Linked DNA regions of Homo sapiens: region 2 is linked to region 1. Evidence: promoter capture Hi-C in 16 types of primary human blood cells and fetal thymus (Javierre and others, 2016). All regions are on one chromosome and are shown on one strand. The core of a region is centred on a gene start or on the middle of the fragment in contact, and the rest is flanking DNA. Distances in the headings are between cores, read along the strand shown.

What was found. The method cuts DNA at HindIII sites, captures the fragments that hold promoters and counts their contacts. A CHiCAGO score of 5 or more calls a contact.
Region 2: a fragment that was not itself captured here is called in contact with the fragment with the promoter of OXT in region 1 in 1 of 17 cell types (naive CD4 T cells); the score reaches 5.3 in naive CD4 T cells.

The regions. Positions count from the first base shown.
Region 1 is chr20:3,070,332-3,072,918 of GRCh38, forward strand. It overlaps OXT (oxytocin/neurophysin I prepropeptide), which reads left to right and starts at 1,289. Exons shown (of 3, transcript NM_000915.4): 1 at 1,289-1,444; 2 at 1,746-1,947; 3 at 2,032-2,186. The coding sequence starts at 1,325. The coding sequence ends at 2,087. LOC101929098 (a long non-coding RNA gene) reads right to left here and starts at 1,968. Exons shown (of 2, transcript XR_430278.4): 1 at 1,866-1,968. RefSeq lists a silencer at 1,955-2,064 and an enhancer at 2,540-2,587. The HindIII fragment of the contact is 21,298 bases long and covers 1-2,587 here.
Region 2 is chr20:3,318,790-3,321,376 of GRCh38, forward strand. The region is part of intron 16 of DNAAF9 (dynein axonemal assembly factor 9); the gene reads right to left. Among named protein-coding and RNA genes, the nearest start is that of SLC4A11, 81 kb to the left of the region's middle. The HindIII fragment of the contact is 1,550 bases long and covers 516-2,065 here.

The sequences.
Region 1 (2,587 bases), core at 39-2,538:
GTGCATGTCTGTAATCCAAGCTACTTGGGAGGCTGAGACAGGAGAATCGCTTGAAACCAGGAGGTGGAGGTTGCAGTGAGCCAAGATGGCGCCCGCCATTGCACTCCAGCCTGGGCGACAGAGCGAGACTCCGTCTCAAGAAAAAAATATATATATTTATATTCAGATATCAAAATGTTAAAACACTTTTTTTTTTTTTGAGACAGGGTCTCGCTCTCGCTCTGTCACTCTGGCTGGAGTGCAGTGGTACGATCACAGCTCACTGCAGTCTTGAATTCCCAGGCTTAAGCGGTACTCCTGCCTCAGCCTCCCAAGCAGCTGAGACTACAGGAGCACACCAACACGCCCAGCTAATTTTTGTATTTTTTGTAGAGTTGGGGGTTCTCGCTATGTTGCCTAGGCTGGTCTTGAACTTCTGGTCTCAAGTGATCTGCCCACCTCAGACTCCCAAAGTATTGGGATTGCAGGCGTGAGCCACAGCGCCCAGCCAAAACACATTTTGATGGTGTCATAAACGTGCTTCTTTAACCATTAGATAGCAAGATCTGGTCGTGGCCCAATAACTGTGATAATTTTGAAGATATAATGAATCTAAACAGTATATAGAGGCATTTGTGACAGCTGTGATAGGAAGTTATCTTCTATTTTGATTTGTGACAAAGCCACAGGTATTGCTAATTCTGCTGTGGTTTGTTGCCTAATTTATAGTGAAAGGAAAGGTGGAATATCAGTTACAGATTAGAGACAGATGTGATCTCTTCCTATCCAAGTTTCAGGTGCAGGGAAGTGGGTGTTGCTGTGTGGTGAGGGTGAAGAGGTTTTCTGGAAATTTGGGTTTAGGAAGAGGAAATGTTCCTAAAAGAGGGGACAATGATCCACATGCGTGGTGGGCCAAGAGGGTGGGCGGATCCTGCCAGAGCCTCCTCCCACCTGGAGGGGTCCCAGCGTCCACCTTCCCTGCCCCAGCCCCCCTCCTCGAGGTACTGGGAGGCTGGATAAAGTCTTCGGCTGGGCCACACCCCACCCCAAATTCTCCCTGTCCCACCCTAGTGGCCCAGGCCACCCCGGCCTGCTCCCTTCCGCAAGGCACCTCACCTTCTGTGCCCAGACCATTAGCCAACGCGGTGACCTTGACCCCGGCCCAGGCCCTGCTAATGAAGAGGAAAGCCCGTACGCACTCGGCCTGACCCACGGCGACCCTCTGTGACCAATCATACTACCAACCTCTTAAACAGAGCTCCACCGACGCAATGCCCAGGCATAAAAAGGCCAGGCCGGAGAGACCGCCACCAGTCACGGACCCTGGACCCAGCGCACCCGCACCATGGCCGGCCCCAGCCTCGCTTGCTGTCTGCTCGGCCTCCTGGCGCTGACCTCCGCCTGCTACATCCAGAACTGCCCCCTGGGAGGCAAGAGGGCCGCGCCGGACCTCGACGTGCGCAAGGTGAGTCCCCAGCCCTGGTCCCGCGGCGCTCCGGGGAGGGAGGGACCCGCAGCCACAGGGGCGCGCCCCGCTCCGGCCTCGCCTGAGAACTCCAGGAGCTGAGCGGATTTTGACGCCCCGCCCTTGACCGCGGTCGAGGCCCCCACGGCGCCCCAGCGCGTCTCAGCCCCGCTGTCCCGCCCGAACTCCGAACCCCGGACCCCAGCATCCTTGCCCGGCGCACCCCGGCCGGCCTCGCAGGGTCCTCCGAGCGAGTCCCCAGCGCCGCCCCGGCTCCCGCTCACCCCGCCCGTCCCCGCAGTGCCTCCCCTGCGGCCCCGGGGGCAAAGGCCGCTGCTTCGGGCCCAATATCTGCTGCGCGGAAGAGCTGGGCTGCTTCGTGGGCACCGCCGAAGCGCTGCGCTGCCAGGAGGAGAACTACCTGCCGTCGCCCTGCCAGTCCGGCCAGAAGGCGTGCGGGAGCGGGGGCCGCTGCGCGGTCTTGGGCCTCTGCTGCAGCCCGGGTGAGCGGGGCAAGGCGCTCCGGGGCCAGGGGGAGGCGGGCGGGGGTGCGGCCGGGATTCCCCTGACTCCACCTCTTCCTCCAGACGGCTGCCACGCCGACCCTGCCTGCGACGCGGAAGCCACCTTCTCCCAGCGCTGAAACTTGATGGCTCCGAACACCCTCGAAGCGCGCCACTCGCTTCCCCCATAGCCACCCCAGAAATGGTGAAAATAAAATAAAGCAGGTTTTTCTCCTCTACCTTGACTCGTGTCTAAGTGCCAGAAATGGGACGGGGAGGGGGCATTGTGGGACTGGAAGATCGCGCGCGTTGGACCTGTGGCTTGTTGCGCTCAGAGCTGGCCCAGGAAGACGTGTCCCGGCTACCCGAGGGGACAGAGCGGGTGCTGTTCTGGCTGCCACCACCCTGGAGGGGCTGGAAGAGGGAGGGGCACAAAGGCTCTGAGGACGTGGAAACAGCCCCAGCTTCCCGCTCCCAGCCTGGGCTGAGGCCTACAGCAGGCTGCACCTCAGGGGATCTTTCAAAATTCAAAAAGACGAGGATGAGGGAGCAAATACAGACAAGGGTCTGAGCGGGATGACCACAGGAAGCGGGCAGTGCACACTGAATGGCTTCCTGACCCCTGAAAGGAGGTTTGAGC
Region 2 (2,587 bases), core at 41-2,540, 250 kb after region 1:
AAAATTAGGCTAGGCATAATGACTCATGCCCATAATCCCAACACTTTGGGAGGTTGAGGCGGGTGGATCACTTGAGCCCAGGAGTTTGAGACTAGCCTGGGCAACATGGTGAAACCCCATCTCTACTAAAAATACAAAAAAAAATTAGCCAGGCATGGTGGCGTGTGCCTGTAATCCCAGCTACTTGGGAGGCTGAGGCAGGAGAATTGCTTGAACCTGGGAGGTGGAGGCTGCAGTGAGCTGAGATCGCGCCACTGAACTCCAGCCTGGGCAACAGAGCAAGACTCTGTCTCAAAAAAAAAAAAAAAAAAAAAAGAAAAAAAAATAGCCAGGCATGGTGGCGTCTGCCTGTGGTCTCTGTTATTCAGGAGGCTAAGGCAGGAGGATTGTTTGAGCCCAGGAGGTTGAGGCTGCAGTGATCTATGATCATGCCACTGCACTCCAGCCTGGGCAACGGACCGAGACCCCGTCTCAAAAAAAAAAAAAAAAAAAAAAAAAAAGCAAGAAAGCTATCAAGCTTTTATGGCCAAGACAAATAAAAGCTGAGGCTTCAGTAGCCTGGAAACAAAATTAGAACAACTCAGAGAGCTCCCAAATGTCTGGTAAGAAAGCCCTAATTTATTAGGTAAAAACTAGTGAAAATGAAACAATTCCGGGAAGAAGCCAGCAGAAGAAAGAGAAAATGATGTTAGCTAGAGCTAGAGTCTGTGATGACCAGGAAGATCTGATGAGGGACATGGGATAAGTAGCACAAGGACCTGTCCCCTCCTACCCTGAATAGTAGTGAGCGGTGGGTGCTGGTGCAGATCTCCTAAGTCCACTTTCACATATTGTCGTCCTAGCCTGGGACGCCTGTCCCACCCCTTAGGACAGAGACAAAAGATCTGAGGCTCTTGAACGGATTGCTGAATTTTCAAATAAAAACTTAAAGAGGCCACAAGGTTGAAAGGAAAAAAACCACAGTTAAGGCCAAAGCCCTTAATTTTCCATATTATTATGATAATAGGATATACAAAAGAGACAAGTAGGCGTCTATATTTGAATTAACTTTCCTTTCAGGTTTGACAACTGGAAGGTTTATCTAAAGCTGTCTCAAAGGATTTCGAGCATCTGAAGACACAGAACCCTCCTGAGCTACATGGTCCCTCTTAAGTGACAATGGCAATCCTATGTCTTTGGTTCCCAGACCAATCAGGTGGACAGATCCTGGGGGTTCCTGATCCTTCATGTTCATATTTGGCCACTGGTATTGAGGAAGGGAAGAGAGGATATTAAAAAGATAACATGTAGCATTTGTTGGACACTTGTTATGTACTTCCCACCATGTGGCACGGGGAAAGAAAAAATACAGCATGGTGCCTGTCTTCAGGAAATCTATAATGTATAGCTGGAGAAACAAGGGCATTCTTATATGAAGGTCATCATATGACACATTATGATATCATATGACACATTAGGATATAATTATTTCTTAATTTGTGTAGTACAAACTGCAACTGCAAGGACTATAGGAATACTTGTAGGGAGAAATCAACAGGGAAGGCTTTGGGGAGGATATAGAACTTCATCTCTGGATAAGAGGACAGAATGTAGACAAAAAGCATCAACTTCCTGCCTCTTATTTCCTATCTCATTAGCTGTGCATACTTGACGCAAGACTATGATTTTACTGGATTCCTAATCACCTGCTACTATGCAAAGCATCTTCCAAAGCACTGCTCAAGAGTCTAAGGAGAGAAGTCAGGGATTTAAAGTCTAACAAGGAGATAAAGTATTATCACCTAAATATCAGAAAGTATTTCCCAATGTTTTAATGATATCACAAAAAAGTCTAAACTAGTTCTAAAAGAACATCCACACAAAATGTTGACAGATGGGGACCAGGAACATTATAAAAACATAAATTACAACCTTAAAAAAATTACCCTTGTTGTGCTATTCTCTGTAGATAGGTTAACACTACTGACAGGAACTTTTGAGTTACTTTTCCACAGGTGATGGTGATGGGGATGCGCTTGTACCAAATTATCCACTGGGTGCTGCTCACCCAGTTCCCTGGGACCAAAGCTTTTTCAAACTAAGGCTCAGGCAGTGGTCACAGAACAGACTCAAGATATAACACACACCACAAACAGAATCTTGGCTAGATATGTACTACCCTCTCATGTACCATTTGCCAATCTTCTTCACATCAGGATGTTCTGGGGTAAAGGGAGGACTCAGCTTGTGGCTGAGAACAACTGGCCTAGAAACTCTGGCTCCCCTTCGCCATGCCATCCCACCCCAGGGACCATTATCTCAGTGCATCTCCAAACCATGCCCCCAGCACACAGGTTGGAAAACGTTGCTCTGACTACTCTACTTCATGGCAGACCCAGGTCCCTGTTGATTATTGGCCATTTAAATAATTATAGTCATGTATCACTTAATGACAGGGATACATTCTGAGAAATGCATCATTAGCTGATTTCATCACTGTGTGAACATTGTAGAGTGTACTTAAACCTAGATGGTGTAGCCTACTATACACCTAGGCTAGCTGGTATAGTCTATTGCTCCTAGGCTACAAACCCGTACAGCATGTTAC